Linked DNA regions of Homo sapiens: regions 1, 2, 3, 4, 5 and 7 are each linked to region 6. The links are contacts of gene promoters, found by promoter capture Hi-C in human tissues and cell types (Jung and others, 2019). All regions are on one chromosome and are shown on one strand. The core of a region is centred on a gene start or on the middle of the fragment in contact, and the rest is flanking DNA. Distances in the headings are between cores, read along the strand shown. Region 1 overlaps SMYD3 (SET and MYND domain containing 3). Region 2 overlaps TFB2M (transcription factor B2, mitochondrial). Region 3 overlaps SMYD3 (SET and MYND domain containing 3). Region 4 overlaps SMYD3 (SET and MYND domain containing 3). Region 5 overlaps CNST (consortin, connexin sorting protein). Region 6 holds the start of KIF26B (kinesin family member 26B). Region 7 overlaps SMYD3 (SET and MYND domain containing 3).

Evidence for each region. The method cuts DNA at HindIII sites, captures the fragments that hold promoters and counts their contacts. A contact is called where the count stands out against the background at its distance.
Region 1: a fragment that was not itself captured here is called in contact with the fragment with the promoter of KIF26B in region 6 in 1 of the 25 tissues and cell types used here (IMR-90 fibroblasts).
Region 2: a contact is called between a fragment that was not itself captured here and the fragment with the promoter of KIF26B in region 6, in 1 of the 25 tissues and cell types used here (hippocampus).
Region 3: a fragment that was not itself captured here is called in contact with the fragment with the promoter of KIF26B in region 6 in 1 of the 25 tissues and cell types used here (lymphoblastoid cells).
Region 4: a fragment that was not itself captured here is called in contact with the fragment with the promoter of KIF26B in region 6 in 1 of the 25 tissues and cell types used here (dorsolateral prefrontal cortex).
Region 5: a contact is called between a fragment that was not itself captured here and the fragment with the promoter of KIF26B in region 6, in 1 of the 25 tissues and cell types used here (lymphoblastoid cells).
Region 7: a fragment that was not itself captured here is called in contact with the fragment with the promoter of KIF26B in region 6 in 1 of the 25 tissues and cell types used here (dorsolateral prefrontal cortex).

Annotation. Positions count from the first base shown.
Region 1 is chr1:246,169,979-246,172,678 of GRCh38, forward strand. All of the region lies in intron 5 of SMYD3 (SET and MYND domain containing 3), which reads right to left. Among named protein-coding and RNA genes, the nearest start is that of SMYD3-AS1, 63 kb to the left of the region's middle. RefSeq lists a cis regulatory region at 742-915 and a silencer at 1,055-1,114. The HindIII fragment of the contact is 4,220 bases long and covers 1-2,700 here.
Region 2 is chr1:246,541,295-246,543,995 of GRCh38, forward strand. All of the region lies in intron 7 of TFB2M (transcription factor B2, mitochondrial), which reads right to left. Among named protein-coding and RNA genes, the nearest start is that of LINC01743, 18 kb to the left of the region's middle. The HindIII fragment of the contact is 6,053 bases long and covers 1-2,701 here.
Region 3 is chr1:246,335,559-246,338,258 of GRCh38, forward strand. All of the region lies in intron 2 of SMYD3 (SET and MYND domain containing 3), which reads right to left. Among named protein-coding and RNA genes, the nearest start is that of SMYD3-IT1, 14 kb to the left of the region's middle. The HindIII fragment of the contact is 6,069 bases long and covers 1-2,700 here.
Region 4 is chr1:246,417,322-246,420,021 of GRCh38, forward strand. The region is part of intron 1 of SMYD3 (SET and MYND domain containing 3); the gene reads right to left. Among named protein-coding and RNA genes, the nearest start is that of SMYD3, 89 kb to the right of the region's middle. RefSeq lists an enhancer at 126-420. The HindIII fragment of the contact is 3,336 bases long and covers 1-2,700 here.
Region 5 is chr1:246,662,332-246,665,031 of GRCh38, forward strand. All of the region lies in intron 10 of CNST (consortin, connexin sorting protein), which reads left to right. Among named protein-coding and RNA genes, the nearest start is that of SCCPDH, 61 kb to the right of the region's middle. The HindIII fragment of the contact is 3,484 bases long and covers 1-2,700 here.
Region 6 is chr1:245,153,627-245,156,326 of GRCh38, forward strand. It overlaps KIF26B (kinesin family member 26B), which reads left to right and starts at 1,359. Exons shown (of 15, transcript NM_018012.4): 1 at 1,359-1,861; 2 at 2,656-2,700. The coding sequence starts at 1,799. RefSeq lists enhancers at 1-170, 171-846 and a silencer at 701-900. The HindIII fragment of the contact is 11,465 bases long and covers 1-2,700 here.
Region 7 is chr1:246,466,314-246,469,013 of GRCh38, forward strand. All of the region lies in intron 1 of SMYD3 (SET and MYND domain containing 3), which reads right to left. Among named protein-coding and RNA genes, the nearest start is that of SMYD3, 40 kb to the right of the region's middle. The HindIII fragment of the contact is 8,621 bases long and covers 1-2,700 here.

The DNA of each region.
Region 1 (2,700 bases), core at 151-2,650, 1.0 Mb after region 6:
ATATTTTTGATTTTCAAGTTTTGATAACAAAACTAGAATGTGTTACAGTTTAATTCTGAGTCTGCATCGTTCTTGGTTTTTGATCATTATAGAAAATACAGAAAACACAGAATAAGGAAAAAAGAGAATGTGACATAGTACAACTTAAGAAAAAATAATTTGGGTGTTATTTCCTCACTATCAAAAACAATAATTAAATAATATATTTTTCATTAACCTAAAATGAAGAATTTAACACAATGATTTTCTCCCCCTCCTAGAAATATGCTCAATTAAAAATATCAGAATAGTGTGATATATATTATGTATGAAATATAATCCAACTAATACTGCAGCATGGTTAGTTTCCATATTACTAAATATGCCTCATGGTTGCATGTAGCTTCCCTTTACATTTATTTATAATTCATTTAACCACTCCCACACTCATTACTTTTTTTTTTTTTTGCTATTAAAAAAAAGTATAATTACTGCTTTCACCAAACAAGGATTGCTATGAATAATTTTTTCTTAATTTTAATTTTTCTTTTTTTATTGGCCTACTTAGGAATTCTACTATGAGTAATTTTTGACTCGATAAATATTTCTAAATTTGCTTGTCTCAAAATATAAATCAATTTACACAAAAACGGTAGTAATACAAGACTGCCTGTCTTAAACTCTCCCTAAGATTTGGGCATTAACATTTCTTGTTCATTTTTGTCAAATGGCATTTCACTATTTACCTTTCATTCTTCCAAATGAACACTAAAAAATTACCTGGAAAACTGCTTTCAAGAAACGTAGTCGAGAAAGACTGACACGTTATAATGCTCAGTCTTATCATCTACAAACATACTATGTCTTTCCAAGTAATCTTCTACATTTCTTAAAGCTCGTAGACTTCTTATTTTCCTGCACTGTTTGTGACCGCTAAATACTGTATTTTGCAAAACCTTTCAGTTTTTTTATATGCAAAATTCATGTTATTTTTCAAACAACCCTCTAATTTTTTTTAAACCAGAAGATTATTTTCTATGGTTTCATAGTCTACAAATTACTACTTTCAGATTATCAATTTCTGAGTATACTTTGTTTCTTTCAGTACATGTTATGGTTCTCTATTCTAGTTTTCTAAGTGGTTTTGATTTCTACTTTGGTCTAATAGAGTTTCTGTGCTCCCACGCATTGGGTGAGGTAGAACCAATGCTGTCTGTGTACAATCAAGAATTGATTTTGGTAAACGTTTCAAAGATAACTGAAAAAAAGGTATATTTCTTTTATAAAAGATATCAAGTTTATCCTATCAATTGTTTTTTATCTTAAATTATTTTTATATGACATTAATATAATCCCTCCTTTCTTTGAATTTCTCTGATTCACCTTTGCATATCCTTTTGCTTTAAATCATAACATTTTAGATCATTCTTTTTCCAGAGGGATGGGGGTAGGGAGTGCCGGTGTCATCACTGGAAAAGAGCTTACACCTGAGAGTACTGGAGTCATGTCTTCTTAACAGAGACACCTGCCAAGAAATTCATTGTTAGGTGATTTTGTCCTTGTGTCAACATCATAGACACACTAACGCAAACCTAGATGAGACAGTCTACTACACACCTGGGCTACATGATATTGCCTATTGCTCCTAGGCTACAAACCTGTACAGTATGTTCTTGTACTGAATACTATAGGCAGTTGTAATACAATGGTAGGTATTTATGTATCTACACTTATCTAAACATAGAAGAGGTACAATAAAAATACAGTATAAGGTTGGGCATGGTGGCTCATGCCTATGATTCCAATGCTTTGGGAGGCCAAGGTGGGGGAATTGCTTGAGGCCGGGAGTTTGAGACCAGACTGGGCAACATAGCAAGACCTCAACTCTAGAAAAACTTAAAAAATTAACCCAGCATGTTGGCAAACATCTGTAATCATAGCTACTCAGCAGGCTGAGGCAAGAGAATTGCTTGAGCCCAGGAGTTCGAGGCTACAGTGAGCCAAGATCACATCACTGCATTCCATCCTGGGTGACAGACTATGACTTTATCTCATGAAGGAAAAGAAAGTTATGAAAGATAAAAATGGTATACCTATGTAGAGCACTGACCATGAATGGAGCTTGCAGGACTACAAGTTGCTCTCCGTGAATGAGCGAGTGGCAGGTGAATGTGAAGGCCTAGAACACTCACTGTACTCTACTGTAGACTATCCACACTGCACGCTTAGGCTACACAGGCCTAGAACACTCACTGTTCTCTACTGTAGACTTTATCAACACCACACACTTAGGCTACACAGGCCTAGAACACTCACTGTTCTCTACTGCAGACTATCCACACTGTACGCTTAGGCTACACAGGCCTAGAACACTCACTGTACTCTACTGTAGACTTTATCAACACTGCACACTTAGGCTACACAGGCCTAGAACACTCACTGTACTGTAGACTTTATCAACACTACACACTTAGGCTACACAGGCCTAGAACACTCACTGTTCTCTACTGCAGACTATCCACACTGTATGCTTAGGCTACACAGGCCTAGAACACTCACTGTTCTCTACTGTAGACTTTATCAACACTGCACACTTAGGCTACACAGGCCTAGAACACTCACTGTACTCTACTGTAGACTTTATCAACACTACACACTTAGGCTACACAGGCCTAGAACACTCACTGTACTCTACTGTAGACTTTATCAACACTACACACT
Region 2 (2,701 bases), core at 123-2,622, 1.4 Mb after region 6:
ATGTCTAACTTAGGCATACAGAGTGCTATAATGGACACGGGAGAATCAGCAGGGAAGAGGATGGGAGGAGGGTGAAGGATGGGAGGAGGGTGAAGGATAAAAAGCTACCTACTGGGTACAATGTACACTATTTGGGCATGGGTACACTAAAAGCCCAGACTTCAACAATCCATCCATGAAACCAAAAAAATCACTTGTATTCCTAAGGCTATTGAAATAAGAAGAAAAAAAAAAGCCTAACTTATTATATATAAGCAATCTTATTTAGTTTAAGAGCTTCCAGTAACTTTATGCTTATTTCTAAAGTTTCATAGCTAACCTATAATGAAAATATTAATAGCAGGTTTAGGCTTTCACATACTCTAATCAATTTTTACACCGAATTCTAGTTTAATCACTGCCGTTTGAAAAAATTATTATGCCTACCTCTTTCATCCTTTTCCTTTCTGCAAAAAATATTCTTAACTTCTTTTGGTTCATGTCAAAGTTCAGTAACTATAAACAGCAGAAGTTGCTGTTTGGCAGTTTACAAAGAGGGAATCATTTTTCACATTTTGATGTAACCATCATTGGTAAATACATTATAAAGCCGCAAACTTCCTTATACAGTCATGCATTGCTTAATGATGGAGGTATGTCCTGAGAAATGCACTGTTAGGTGATTTCATTGTTGCTTGAACATCTTACAGAGTACTTAACCCAAACCTATGTGATATAGCCTATTACAGACTTAGGATATATGGCATAGCCTATTGCTCCAAGGATACAAACCTGCACAGCATGTTACTGTACTGAATACTGTAGGCAACTGTAACACAATGGTAAGTAATAGAAAAGATACAGTAAAAGATACAGCATCTTTATAATCTTATGGGACCACTATTGTACATTTGGTCCACTACTGACTGAAACGAGGTATAACGAACACGCCTCATTATGAGGTATTATATATATAAGGTATATTATATAATATATATACAATATATAATCAATGAGGTATATTATATACCATAATATGAGGTACATAACTGTGTATCAGCTTAGCAACAAACCATCAATAAGCCTCCAACAACAACAATTGTAAAAAAATATTTTGGGCTGGGTGCGGTGGCTCCTACCTGTTATCCCAGCACTTTGGGGGGCTAGGTGGGAGGATCATTTGAGCCCAAGAGTTCAAGACTATCCTGAGCAACATAGTGAGACCCCATCTCTACAAAAATCGTAAAAAGTTAGCTGGGCATAGTGGTGGGCATAGTAGTCCCAGCTACTCAGGGAAGAGGCTGAGGCAGGATCACTTGAGCAAGGGGTTTGTGGTTGCAGTGAGCTATGATTGTGCCACTGTACTCCAGACTGGGCAACAGAGTGAGACTCTCTGTCTGTTCAATTCCAATACTTTTTGATATTGAATAGAATCTTGGTAACATGTTTCTAGTCCACTGAGATTACCAGGAGCATTTTTAATATTTTGCACTATGATTTACAACATTTATTCCTTATTTCCCTATTTTCTTGATATTTTCATTCAAAATAGCCACAAGGTGGCAAGATGAAAAATAATAGATTGCCTTTTATTAGTCTATTGCCTTTTACTAGTCTATTACCACTTTTTTTTTTTTTTTTTTTTAGAGATAGAGTCTTGCTCTGTCACCCAGGCTCATCTCAAAGTCTTGTTGGCGCTCTCTGCCTCCCAATTTTTTTTTTTTTTTTTTTTTTAGAGACAAGGTCAGCTTGCTCTGTGTCCCACACTGCAATGCAGTGGTGAGTTTATGGCTCACTACAGCCTCCAATCCCCGGCCTCCTCAAGTGATCCTCCCACCTTGGCCTCACAAAAATGCTCGGATTACAGGCATGAACCACTGCACCCAGGCTATTGCCACTTTTAACATTTATTTTTAGATAAATATTGTCTAGTCAACAGCTCATTCAGAGTTAAATATTAAATGATCAAATTTGTTAAAATAATTATTTTAACATTTTACCCATCCTCTGGCGAGACTTTGAATGACTATGGGCTGCTGATTACAAGGCATAATGCACAACTTACAGGGACGTATGCATCAGCCCTACATACAAATTACATGGATTTATGTACAAATTACACAGATGGCTGGGCGCGGGAGCTCATGCCTGTAACCCCAACACTACTTACAGAGATGTATGCATCATCCCTACATACAAATTACATAGATGGCCAGGCGCAGTGGCTCATGCTGGTAACCTGAGCTGTACTTACAGAAGTGTGGGCATCAGGCCTACACACAAATTACATGGATGGCCAGGCATGGTGGCTCCCGCCTGTAACCCCAGCACTACTTACAGAGGTGTGTGCATCAGCCCTACATACAAATTACATGGATGGCCAGGTGCAGTGGCTCATGCCTGTAACCCCAGCACTTTGGGAGGCCAAGCAAGGTGGATTGCTTGAGGCCAGGAATTTGAGACCAGCCTGGGCAAGGTGGCAAAACCCCATCTCTACAAAAATTGGCATACAATTTATAAACACAAAATATAAATATAAAAATTTTATATTTTTACAAATATAAAAATTAGCCGGGCGTGGTGGTGCATGCTTGTAGTCCCAGCTACTCAGGAGGCTGAGGTGGGAGGATCACTTGAGCCTGGGAGGACAAGGCTGCAGTGAGCTGAGACTGTGCCACTACACTTCAGCCTGGACAACACAGCGAGACCCTGTCTCTAACAA
Region 3 (2,700 bases), core at 33-2,532, 1.2 Mb after region 6:
CATTAAATTTTAATAGTCCAAATGTAACTGCACAATAGAAAATAAAAGCAATATTCTAAATCTGAAAATAATCCAGGATGAGTCTTTGCCAAATATGCAATTACTATGCAAGGACATTAAAAGCCTCAGCTTCACCTCTGTGCTTTCATTTGTCCCCTGGTTATTACCTGGCTAGTGGAGTCCAAAGAAAGAGCCATTACAGCTTACTTAATAATGTATAAGATGGTCTTGGAACTGATTAAACAGGATTCAACAATAGTCATTTTGAATACAAAAGGAAAATGTCACTCCAAATTAGAAAATAAAACGTGGTTCAGAAGACTCAAAATAGGGATGACAGCCTTCTGAATTTCTGTGCTGCTACAGAAATATCAGGAGGGCTAACACACCCCCAAATATAAAATCTCTTTGTTTTAAAAGCAACATAAAAAGAACTATTAGCTAAAATCATTAAATGTCCAGTTTGTCCTGGATGTGTCTAGGTTTGTATCTATGTCCTGGCTTAAATATTAATAGTGCCCCTTTTCACTCTGAAAAGTTCTGGTTTTGATGACAAATTATATGGTCACCTAAGCCATGATCCTAGCCATGTGTTGATGTGGCTAAAGAGACCATTGAGTCAGTTGCCAATGTACAGATGAATGGACTAAAGGGAAGGACACTATCCTTGAGCCTTGGATCAGAAAGGCGACGGCTCCTTTCACACGGAATCACTTTCATATGGAAATAAAATCCAGATCATCTAATATTTAGCCCTGGTGAGTAGAAGAAGCCTCAATCAAATGTCTCTCGTGTTATATTCTGAAAATTGGAATTTCCATTACTGAAATGCCTGATACCACTTACTCATTCTTATTTCAAAAATTATAAATCTGCTCCTCAATTTCTGGGTCTACAAAATCAATGTGCTGTTCATAATTTTTGTTTTAGCATTTACACTTCACTCACTTCTAAACAAGACTGAGCTGATTCAAAGTAAAGATGTGTATGAAATAAGACTGCAAAACCAGAAACAGAACATATTAAAATTATGGAAGGGGGAAAAAGGAAAGCACGCTAGCATTTACTTAGCATTCTACAAGGTACTAGATACATGGCTAAGCAAATAACGAAGCACGTTTCACTTGATTTTCGTAACAATCCAAATGGTAGGTATTATCCCTCTATTACAAATAAAGGCTCAAAAGCTGATATCTAACTATCAAACTGCCCAAATACAAAAAGAGAGAGTAAAAATTCTTAGCATGCTAAACATGAGAGCTGAATAATTTCTGCATTACATTTGAGTATTTGTACGTCACATTTATTTGAGATGCCTTACAAGCAAGGCAAAAAAGAAGGCATAATGGCTTATATAATCCTCAACTGACAGAAAGTAAAAACATACAGTTTCACCAAGTATTAAATCACAGGAGGGATTTATTCCAAGAATGCTAATCAACACACTGAACAATGTCCTTAACAACAGTTCACAACTATAATGGCCTTTCATATGACTTCTAATATCAGTACTCACTGAAAGGCATAATATTAAAATACAACTCAGTGAAAGAACAAGCTTCTGTTGCTCAGGGGGCTAGTCCTTGACTAGCAATTAGCAATTACCAATGTGTGTAAGAGGCCTAAAATATACATGGTACAATTGTCAAGTAAGTTTTAAAAACACAATATCATGTTGACCCTACTTAGAGATTCAAAATATACTTAGCATCCTAAAAGTTCTAAAAGTCTATGCACTAAAGAAATGTGTATAAATTATTTAACACAGTTTCCCATGCTTGTTATTGTCACCCTTTAGAGAGTTAGGTTGGTATTCACTAACTCAGATATATCTATATATTTTTTTTCACCTGGTCTTTGTATGTGAGTGGGTTAAGCTAACAAATTTACATTCATTTGCACTCACAAGAAACAAGAATGTTAACTTTTTTGGTTTTTTACTGATAGAAGGGAGAACCATAACTTTGGCGTTAGTTTTCCTTTGATTATAGAAGTTGAGAAACCTGTCAGATGCTCTCATGGACAGAGCGTGTAGGCAGGAACGGATAACATAGTGCCAGTGGGTCTATCAGAAAGTACCTTAGGCTCTGTTCAAATGCCTCAGTGTCCAGCTGAACAGGGCTCACACTCAGCAAAACAAGGCAGAGATAATTTGAGGCAAAAGACCTTAAGAGCAGATTTTAATCAATGCTCATTTTAATTACAAGAGATCATCCATAACCCCTCTGTTAAAACCTAAATATTTGAGCAGCTCAGCCTCCTGATAGCTTACCAGGGTGAGATAAGTACAAAACGTACACCAGATAATGAACAACCGATCAGTTAGATGACAGCATTTGGAATTAAACATCCAAATTTTGGAAAATTCCTGTTAAAACAACTTTAGGTCCTTAACATAATTGATATAGAGCTCCTTTTCTCAACAATAACTAGAAACTAGACAAAATGTTTCTTAAACTTATTCCTAGATCATTGCCTGAAAACATACTTATTTTCTCATTTGCTTCAGCAAAAATATGTTCATTATTTCCATGAAAAGCCAAATCAGATCATTTAGGCATAAATAGAGAAAGCAATCATACCACTTAAAATTGGTCTGTAATATGGTACCACATATCAGCCCATTCCTTTTCTTTTTAAAACATTAACTGTTAAAATTTATCATTCAGCTTCACCTATCACATCTTACCATAAGGGTTA
Region 4 (2,700 bases), core at 1-2,500, 1.3 Mb after region 6:
GAGAACAGTAGGGGTGTTGCAGCAGAGAAAGAGTTTAATTACTGCAAGGCAGCTGAGCAGAAGGAGGGGAGGTATCTCTCAAATCCACCTCCTCGAAAGCTTGGAGCCCAGGGTTTTTAAGGATAATTTGGCAAGCTGAGGGCCAGGGAATGTATGCTACTGATTGGTTGGAGATGAAATCACTGGAGTGTTGGAACTGTCTTCACGTGCTGAGTCAGTTTCTAGGTGGGGGTCACAGGACGAGTTGAGTCTGTTCCTTGGTATGAGTCATGGTCCAGATGGCATCAGTCAGTTTACCAGAATGCAAAGGTCTGAAAAATATCTCAAAAACCCATCTTAGGGTTTACAGTGGTGATGTTATCTCAAATCTTGTGACCTCCAGCAGTAACCAAGCTAGGGAACAATGGCTGGTTATCTCTTCTTCACTGTGCTTATTACTTAGCAGAATTCAGGCCCTTATCATAATTCTAATCTTATTGACTTTCATTAGTTTTACAAATGCAGTTTCAGTTCCCAAGCAAGAAGGGGACCAGTTTCAGGAAGGGACTATTATCATCCTTGCTTTAAAGTTAAACTGTAAACTAAACTCCTTTTTAGTTAGCTTGACCTACACCCAGGAATGAGCAGATAGTCAGCTTCTGGGGTCAGAAGCAAGATAAAGTCAGCTGTGTTGGATTTCTCTAACCATCATAACCTTAGCAAGGTGGTTTCAGTTCTCTGAGTCTCATATACTGTGTGGCCCCTGTGCTTCTGCACATTAATACATTTATATGCCTCTTCCCCTGTTAATCAGTCTAATGTCAGGTCATTTCAGCACTTTCAAATTTCAGAGCCAGAGGGGGAGGAAAAATTATCTTCACACCTATACTCTCTAAGACCAAAAAGCAACAGACATTCTGCCACATGCTACAAGACGGATAAACCGACAAATATTATATGGTTCCACTTATAAGAAACATGAAGAGAAAGTAGAGTAAAGGTTCCCTTGTCCCCCTCTGCCACAGAGGGAGTGGCTTGCTTCTTCAGCGCCCTGCTGCTCAAACCTCTAGGGGGAGCATACAGATGGGCACGTTGTGGGGCTCGGACCCCATGGCAGTGTCTAGAGGTGTATGTTTACAGCTCCTGAAGCCCCAGTGGGCATGTGTTACAAGGTGCTCTTTTAATCTAGCCGTCTGTAGGCAGCTTGTGTTAGTCAGCTCAATTAGACCCCCTTCCTTATCACAAGGACAAAGGGATTTCTATATCCTGGGGTTTCTTGCTTTGGTGAACTGGAAGAATCAGATCACATGTAGGCTTGGAGAATAAGTGCAAGGTTTTATTGAGTAAAGTAGCTCTCAGCAGATGGGGGAGCCAGAAGGGAAATGGTTTTCTCCCGGAGTCGGGCGCTCGGTGACCTGGGCTCTCCTCCAACCGTCCCAGCCAAACTCCACGTCGTTCTGCTGGCCGACGGCCTCCCAGCGTGCTGGCATCTGTTGCTGTGCTCTTCTGCCTGCGTGCTCCCCTTTGTCAGGCCTCTGAGCCCAAGGTAAGCCATCATATCCCCCGTGACCTGCACGTATACATCCAGATGGCCTGAAGCAACTGAAGAACTACAAAACAACTGAAAATAGCCAGTTCCTGCCTTAACCGATGACATTGCACCATTGTGATTTGTTCCCTCCCCACCCTAAGTGATCAATTGACTTTGTGACAATACCCCCTCCCCGCCCTTGCGATAATGGACTTTGTGATATTCCTCCGCCCTTGAGAATGTAATATCCTTTGTAATATCCTCCCCACACTTGAGAATGTACTTTGTAAGATCCACCCCCCACTAGCAAAAATTGCTCCTAACTCCACCGCCTATCTCTATAAGAACTATAGATAAGTTCTTATAGGGATAAACCTATAAGATAAACCTATAAGAACTAATGATAATCCCACCACCCTTTGCTGACTCTCTTTTCAGACTTAGCCCGCCTGCACCCAGGTGATTAAAAAGCTTTATTGCTCACACAAAGCCTGTTTGGTGGTCTCTTCACATGGACACGTGTGACACCCTCCACGTCCTCCCGATGTCCGGCCACTTGTCTTCTTCCACCAATGTGTTCCTCTCACCCTCCAGCTGCTTCTGTCTGTGCCTTGCTAGGGTCTTGGGTTTTTATAGGCCCAGGATGGGGGCGTGGTAGACCAGGGTAGTCTTGGAAAATGCAACATTTGGGCGCAAAGGCAGAAGTGCTTGTCCTCACCTAGGTCGATGGGGGTAGCGCCCTAGCCAGGGACCATGCCCTCCTCTACCCAGCACTTCCCTTACCCCCTTCCTCATCATTTAAAGGGACCACACTCTTCCCTTCCCAGCACTCCCGTATCACAGTCAGTGGTGGCACTGGATTCTCATAGGACCACTAACCCTATTGTGAACTGCACATGGCAGGGATCTAAGTTGCATGCTCCTTATGAGAATCTAATACCTGATGATCCAAGGTGGAATAGTTTCATCTAGAAACCATCCGCCCCCCTCACTCTATATCCCTGGAAAAACTATCTTCCGCAAAACCAGTCCCTGGTGCCAAAAAGGTTGGGGACCACTGTTTTCAGCTAAAAAGTCTGTCACGACTTGAGCTGTGGCTCATGCCTGTAATCCCAGAATTTCGGGAGGCCGAGGCAGGGGGATCACGAGGTCAGGAGATCGAGACTTCTCCATCCTGGCTAACACGGTGA
Region 5 (2,700 bases), core at 177-2,676, 1.5 Mb after region 6:
GCTTTGTAGTAGCCATGTTAAAGTGAAAAGAAACAGGTGAGATGAATTTTATTTTTTATTTGATTTTATTTTTTTTGAGACGGGATCTCACTCTGTCGCCCGGCTGGAGTGCAGTGGTGCGATCTTGGCTCGCTGCAACCTCCGCCTCCCGAGTTCAAGCGATTCTTCTGCCTCAGCCTCCCAGGTAGCTGGGATTACAGGCATGTTCCCCGACGCCTGGCTAATTTTTGTACTTTTAGTAGAGACAGGGGGTTTCACCATGTTGGCCAGGCTGGTCTCGAACTCCTGACCTCAGGTGATCTGCCTGCCTCGGCCTCCCAAAGTGCTGGGATTACAGGCGTGAGCCACCGCACCTGGCCAGAATTTTAAGAATGTATTTTATTTAACCCAGTACATAAAAATTATTTCAAAATGTGATCTATATGAAAAAATTACTAGTGAGACATTTTACATCCTTTTTTTCACACTAAGTATTCAGAATCTGTGTTCATCGCCGCTCAGTTTGGACCAGCTACATGTCAAGTGCCCAACAGCCACCTGTGGCTCACATCGGACAGTACAGCTCAGACAGGTCTAGGACATATAAATAAAACAAACAGCATAGATGCTTTTACATATTTAAGCTATATTTAAATGTTTGGATTTGAATATATGATAATGAAGAAAAATACTTTAGGTTGTTAACATAGATGAAGTGGGGGTAGGAATCATGTTAAGAAAAGCACGTAAGGCATGGTGCAGTGGCTCACACCTGTCATCCCAGCACTTGGGGAAGCCTCCTCCCAAGTCTTCCTCCTGGATCACTCGAGGCCAGGAGTTGGAGACCAGCCTGGGCAAACATGGCAAGACCCCATCTCTACAAAAAATACAGAAATTAGCAGGGCATGGTGGTGTGTGCACCTTTGGTCCCAGCTACTTGGGAGGCTGAGATGGGAGGATCGCTTGAGCCCAGGAGGTTGAGGCTGCAGTGAGTGTGGCCTGGTGACAGAGCACAACCCTATGTCTAAAAAAAAAAAAAAAAGAAAGACAAGACCGAACTGTCCAAAAAAATACAGCATGATTAATATGATCCTATTTCTTCATTTATATAAAAGACATATTTTCATACATAGGTATAAACTATTTTAGACTGGGCGTGGTGGCTTATGCCTGTAATCCCAGCACTTTGGGAGGCCAAGGCGGGCAAATCACCTGAGGTCAGGAGTTTGAGACCAGCCTGGCCAATATGGTGAAACCCCATCTCTATAACAATACAAAAAGTAGCCAGGCATGATGGCAGGTGCCTGTAATCTCAGCTACCCAGGAGGCTGAGGCAGGAGAATTGCTTGAACCCAGGAGGCAGAGGTTGCAGTGAGCCAAGATCACACCATTGCACTCTAGCCTGGGCAACAAGAACAAGACTCTGTCTCAAAAAAAAAAACAACTATTTTAAAATGTAAATTTCAGAGCAAACAATTTTTTAATCCTATTTTGATGTAAGTCCTGAAATCATACGTGTTTGATCTGAAATGACACACACCAAATTTAACAGTGTTTACCTCTGGGATGGGAAGGAAATATGATTGGGCGGGAGAAAAACGGATAGTCCCTTAGACTCTAAGATGCTTTTGGGGTTGCGTTTTTACAGGGAGAATATATTCATGTATTACTGCACAATGTTCTAAATAAAGTCTATTTGGTATCCATTAGGTTTTGTAAAATTTGTTTCTTGTAAAAATATATGCTAATTATGAAAAAAATCAGTTTAATAAAGTAAAAATTAAATCATGAGTCTTAGACATCCTTCAATGAAAGAACATATTAAATTTACTTCATTCTATTAAATACTTACATCATATTCCATTATATAAATGTCCCATAATTGTTTAACTGTTCCATTGTAACCAGAACCACTAAGTTATTCCCAGCCTTTTGTTATAACAAACCCTGCTGCAGTGAACAAGCTTGTATATATGATATTTGTTGTGCAGAACTGTAGCCTAATTCTTAAAGGTGGATTTGCTGGGATATGTTGAAACTATATGTCCCAGGTGGCCTGAGGCCGTCCTGGTTTACACCTGTTGTCCCGGAATTGCATTCAGTTAACACTGTCTTTTTTTCTTTTTTTTTTTTTGAGAAGGAGTCTCGCCCTGTGGCCCAGGCTGGAGTGCAGTGGTGTGATCTCAGCTCACTGCAACCTCCGCCTCCCAGGTTCATGCCATTCTCCTGCCTCAGCCTCCTGAGTAGCTGAGACTATAGGCACCTGCCACCACGCCCAGCTGATTTTTTATATTTTTAGTAGAGACGGGGTTTCACCGTGTCAGCCAGGATGGTCTCGATCTCCTGACCTCGTGATCCGCCCGCCTCAGCCTCCCAAAGTGCTGGGATTACAGGCGTGAGCCACCACACCCAGCCTTAACACTGTCTTTTACTCTCAAAATTGTCCAGTCTGTAGGATAAATTAATTTTAAATTTTAATAGATACTGCCAAATTACCTTCCAAAAAGGCATTCCTACACTTTAATCATGCTGCAGATCAGAAGACTTTTTGGTCTTTTTGAAATTAAAATTTTTTTTAAATTATGAATAATTAAGATATTTTTCAACCAAAGAATGATTGTTTTCTTCAATATAGAAAGATGCAAAAGAGATCCCACCCAAAGGCATTTTTATTGTTTAATATTAAGTCGACTTTGCTCTCAGGTAGTCCCATTATGTGAA
Region 6 (2,700 bases), core at 109-2,608:
ACAGAAGAAATTGTCCCCGAGGAAGGCAGAGTGGGGGCGTGGCCCCAGGCTTCCAGAACCCCGAACCTTTGTCTTCTTGCCCCCTCCTGCGTCGTCCACAGCTCAGAAGGAAGTCAGCGACCAGAAAGCCCTGAACGTCCTTCGCGCCCTCGCCCACCCCCGGGCTGGGTCTCCCCGCGGGCGCGGAGATGCCGTTACACCCCACGTGATCCCTGCGCCCGGCCAGTCCTTCCAGAGGCGTCTCGCGGGGTGTTAATTAAAGGTCACAACAAAACAGACCTGCTGGCTCACCAGAAGAAATGTCCTCCCGTGAAATGAAAAATGACACCCCAGAGCAGCCACGTGTGGAGCCTGGCATACGCCGGCTTCCTGCGCTCCTGGGCGCTGCGCCGGGGGACTGGGGCGGGGGGCGATCGGAGAGGGAGCGATGACGGGGTGCTCCGGAGACCCCGCGGGGCCCAGGCGCAGGAAGAAACGGGCGGCGGGGGGCGAGGGGCCCGATCCCACGCAAGGAGAGGCCAAGGCCAGCTCGCGCCACACCCCCTCTCCAGGCCAGAGTCGTCCGCGTGCAGCGCGGCGAAGCCCTCAGTTTCCCCTGCCCGGCAGCGGCCCGCTGGGTCACCAGGCTCACCTGTCCCAGCCCCGGGCGGCTTAGTCCATCACAGACCGGGGCTCGGGCGGGCGGGGGACCAAGGGCCCTAGTCCTGCGGCTGCGGTCGGGGAGGGTGGCCCCCCGGCCGGCCCGGGGTCGGTAGGGCAATTCCAGAAAAGGTTTGCCCGGCAGCTCTCCGAGAACAAAGGGCGGGGGGAGGACCCGGCATGTTTGTGGACTTGTTTGTGACTCAATCCCTTTTGCACGGCGTTTCACAGACAGACCTGCAAGCCTTGTCAGGAAGAGAAAGAACTTGGGGGCGGGGGAGGCTGGGGCACCGCATTTCCGTCCAGCCACGCTCGCTCGCGCGGCCCCCGGGCTCCAGGCTCGCGCAGCGGCGTTTCATTAGAGCCCCGGGCCCGGGCCGCGCGCCAGGAACTTCCCCGCACGCGGCGAGATCGACGATCCCCCGCCCCCAGCCCCAGCCCGGCTCCAGGCCTCGCAATGTCAGGCACGAGCGCCGCCACATAAAATGGATCCCGGCCGGCGCGGCGAGGGCGGCAGGTTCCCGAGGCTCCTCCGCGCTGCGCCCGGGCGCACACGCGCGCTGTGACCGCCGACCGCTCCCGGGCCACGCGGAGCCGCCCCTCTCCCGGCCCTCGCGCAACTGTCAGGCGAAACGGGCCGGCGGATATTGGCTCGGCGACACGCCGAGGCTCCTCCCCGAGTCTGGATCTTTATATTTTGGGAGAATTTCTTTGAACTCAGTTACCAAGCTCGGTGAAGGAGACAAGTTCCCACAGCTGACTCGGCTCGGCTCTCCCACCTTCCCGGCAGCGGCCGCGAGCCCTGATTGTATCCCTCGCTTTCCTCGTGGGGGAGCACGGACTGACTTGGCTGAAGAAAATGCCAGTTCTGTGGATGTGGCCGTGACAAGAGGACGTGCGGCTGGAAGAGGCAGAAGGGGACGAGGAAAAGCATGCTTTGAAGAGAAGAATAAACCAGCGACCCCAACCCTTTCTGCAAATTGGTGCTATTACTTGTGGGATCCATTTGCTTTCATTCCCTCCCACCCCACCGCTGAAGAAACCTTGCCCTGAGGGCTGAGAGCCAGCCCCCTGCAGCCGGGGGACGCTTCTGGGTTGGAGGACCTTCTGGATGTAGCGTCGGTGGAACCTTTAGATACTCTCCTCTGGAAAAGCCACCATGAATTCGGTAGCTGGGAATAAAGAGAGGCTTGCGGTCTCCACCAGGGGCAAGAAATACGGGGTAAGTTGTGACGGTACGACGCGGAGACGCGTTACCAGACCCATCTCGGCGGAGGTCCCCCTTTCCCCGGGATCGTGCGGCCCCGGCCCCGAGCTCTCCCCCGCTGCAGAGGCGCCCCCGGGGCTGGCGGGGTTGTGAGTGCGCGGAGGCGGGTCGGCCGCGGGGACGCCCGCACGCTCGCCTCGCTCTCGGAATTTTTTCAGCCCTCTCGTTCCTTCCTTTCCACGCACCCGTAACTTTTGCCGCATTCCTGCACTTCTAGGCAGAGTGAAGCCGAAGGGGAGGGTTTCCCATGAATGCTGGGCAGTACCTCGGATCGTTTAGCTGGAGCCGTGAGAGCCTCTCGTTTACCTGCAGGATCCGGAGAGTTGGACCCCGTATGAATAAAAATCCTGAAATCACAGCCCTCCCCCTACCCCCCCCATAGGGTCTTCCAGGATTTTGTTCCCGGGATCTTGCTGGGATAGGTGCCGGCTTCAAAAGCGTGGGGCGCTGAACCTATGGATCCCCCCCGCCTTGCAGAAGCCGTGGAAACGGCCCCGAGCGAGTCCCCTTCCTGACCCCAGGAGGAGGCCACCGGGGACCAGCGCAGGGGTCACCTGGGCGGTGGGGACTCACTTAAGGACAATTAACGAGACAGACGGAGGGCAATTTGGCCGCAGGGCTTGGAGAGGTCCCCAACCGACTCCCGTGGGCGGTTCGAGCGGGTACTTGGTGGCGCACGTATGACCCAGCTCCTGGGCGCTGCAGCCCGCCGCCTTGCAGCCCCTGACACCGGCGTGTCTTCCCCGCAGGTGAATGAAGTCTGCTCGCCCACCAAGCCCGCAGCGCCCTTCTCC
Region 7 (2,700 bases), core at 89-2,588, 1.3 Mb after region 6:
ACCTATACACCATGGAATACTATGCATGCGGCCATAAAAAGAACAAAATCATGTCCTCAGCAGGAACATGGATGGAGCTGGAGGCCATCATCCTTAGCAAACTAACACAGGAAAAGAAAACCAAATACTGCAGGTTCTTGCTTAAAGGGGGAGCTAAATGATGAGAACACATGGACACATAAAGAGGGACAACAGACACTGGGGCCTCCTTGAGGGTGGAGGTTGGAAGGAGGGAGAGGATCAGGAAATATAACTGTTGGATACTAGACTTAATATGTGGATGACAAAATAATCTATACAACAAACCCACATCACATGAGTTTACCTATATAAAAAACCTGCACACGTATCCCTGAACCTAAAATAAAAATTTTAAAACTAAAAATGAGCTGGGCATGGTGGCACATGCCTATAGCCCCAGCTACTCAGGAGGCTGATGGGGGAGGATCACTTGAGCCCGGGAAATCAAGGCTCCAGTGAGCCATGATCATGCCACTGCACTCCAGCCTGGGCAACAGAGTGAGGCCCTGTCTCAAAAAGAATAATAATTTTTAAAATTTTTTTTTTAAAAATGCTGGGCGCAGTGGCTCACGCCTGTAATCCCAGCACTTTGGGAGGCCAAGGCAGGTGGATCACTTGAGGTCAGGAGTTCAAAATCAGTCTGGCCATCATGGCAAAACCTCATCTCTACTAAAAAGACAAAAAAATTAGCCGGGAATGGGGGCGTGTGCCTGTAATCGCAGCTACTTAGGAGGCTGAGGTAGGAGAATCACTTGAGCCCAGGAGGTGGAGGTTGGAGTGGGCTGAGATCACATCACTGCACTCCAGCCTTGGCGACAGAGTGAGACTCCATCTCAAAAAAAATAAATAAATAAAATTTAAAAATAAAATACACTTACCAATAAAACAATGGCAAGTTGCTGTGACTCTATTACTTAGGACAGGAGAGACACATCATTTGACAGAATTAGATTTCACATACTTTAGGATGCTACCTGTTTTGCTTGAACTACCCAACATAAATATAAGGGAAATAATAAAAATATAAGAGCAGAAATAAATGAAATGGAGGCTAGAAAAACAATACAAAAGATCAATGAAACAAAGAGCTGGTTTTTTAAAAAACACAAAATTGACAAACCTTTAGCTAGACAAAAAGAGGGAAGACTCGAATAAAGAAAATCAGAGATGGAAAAGGAGCTATTACAATGGAAATACTAAGGATCGTAATATTATGAACAACTATAGGTCAACCAACTCAATAACATAAAAAAAGAGATAAATTCCTAACACATACAATCCAAGATAAAAGTCTCCCATCAAAGCAAAGCCCAGGACCTGACAGCTTCACTGCTGAACTCTAAAAAGCAATTAAAGAACTAGTACTAATTCTTCTCAAACTATTCCAAAAAATGGAAGAGGAGGGAATACTTCCAAACTCATTCAAAAAAGCCAGCATTATTCTGACAGCAAAACCAGACAGACACAATAAAAGAAGAAAATTACAGACAAATATCCCTGATTAACATAGAGGCAAAAATCCTCAACAAAATATTTGTAAACCAAATTCAGCAGCACATCAAAAAGAGCACTCACCAGTACTTGCAGAGGCCAAGGTGGGCAGATCGCTTGAGCCCAGGAGTTCACGACCAGCCTGGGCAACATGGCGAAACCCCGTTTCTACTAAAATTACAAAAATTAGGCGGGCGTGGTGGCACATGCCTGTAGTCCCAACTACTCAGAAGGCTGGGTTGGGAGGATCACTTAAGCCCAGGAGGTGGAAGTTGCAGTGAGCCATGATCTCACCACTGCACTCCAGCCTGGGCAACAGAACAAGACTCTGTCTTAAAAAAAAAAAAAAAAGATAATTCACCATGATGGAGTGGGATTCATCCCAGGGACGCAAAGATGGTTTAACATAAGTAAATCAGTAAACATGATACATCACATTAACAGAATGAAAAACAAAAAATATATGATCATTTCTATAGATGCAGAAAAAGGCATTTGACAAAATTCAATATGCCTTTTTAAAAACATTTACAGTTCAGACATGGTAGCTCACATCTGTAATCCCAGAACTCTGGGAGGTTGAGGCGGGCAAATCGCTTGGGCTCAGGAGTTCAAGACCAGCCTGGGCAACATGGTGAAACCCCATCTCCACAAAATATACAAAAATTAGCCAGGTATGGTGGCACATGCCTGTAATCCCAGCTACTTGACAGGCTGAGGCAGGAGAATCACTTGAACCCAGGAGGCAGAGGTTGCAGTGGGCCAAGATCACACCACTGCACTCCAGCCTGGGTGACAGAGTGAGACTCTGTCTCCAAAAAAAGGAAAAAAAATTAATAACAATAATAATAACAAATAAAAATTAACAGGGCTGGGTGTGGTGGCTCATGTCTGTAATTCAACATTTTGGGAGGCTGAGGTGGAAGGGTTGCTTGGGGTCAGGAGTTTAAGACCAGACTAGACAACAAAGCAAGACATTACCACTGGAAAAACTTTAAAAATTAGCCGGGCATGGTGGTACATGCCTGGAGTCCTAGGTACTTAGGAGGCTAAGGCAGGAGGATCACCTAAGCCAAGGAGTTGGAGGCTACAGTGAACTATGATCATACCACTGTACTCCAGCCTGGCCAACAAGACTGTGCCTTCAGTCATTAAGCCTCTGTACATGGTAGCCTTTTCACGCTAAAC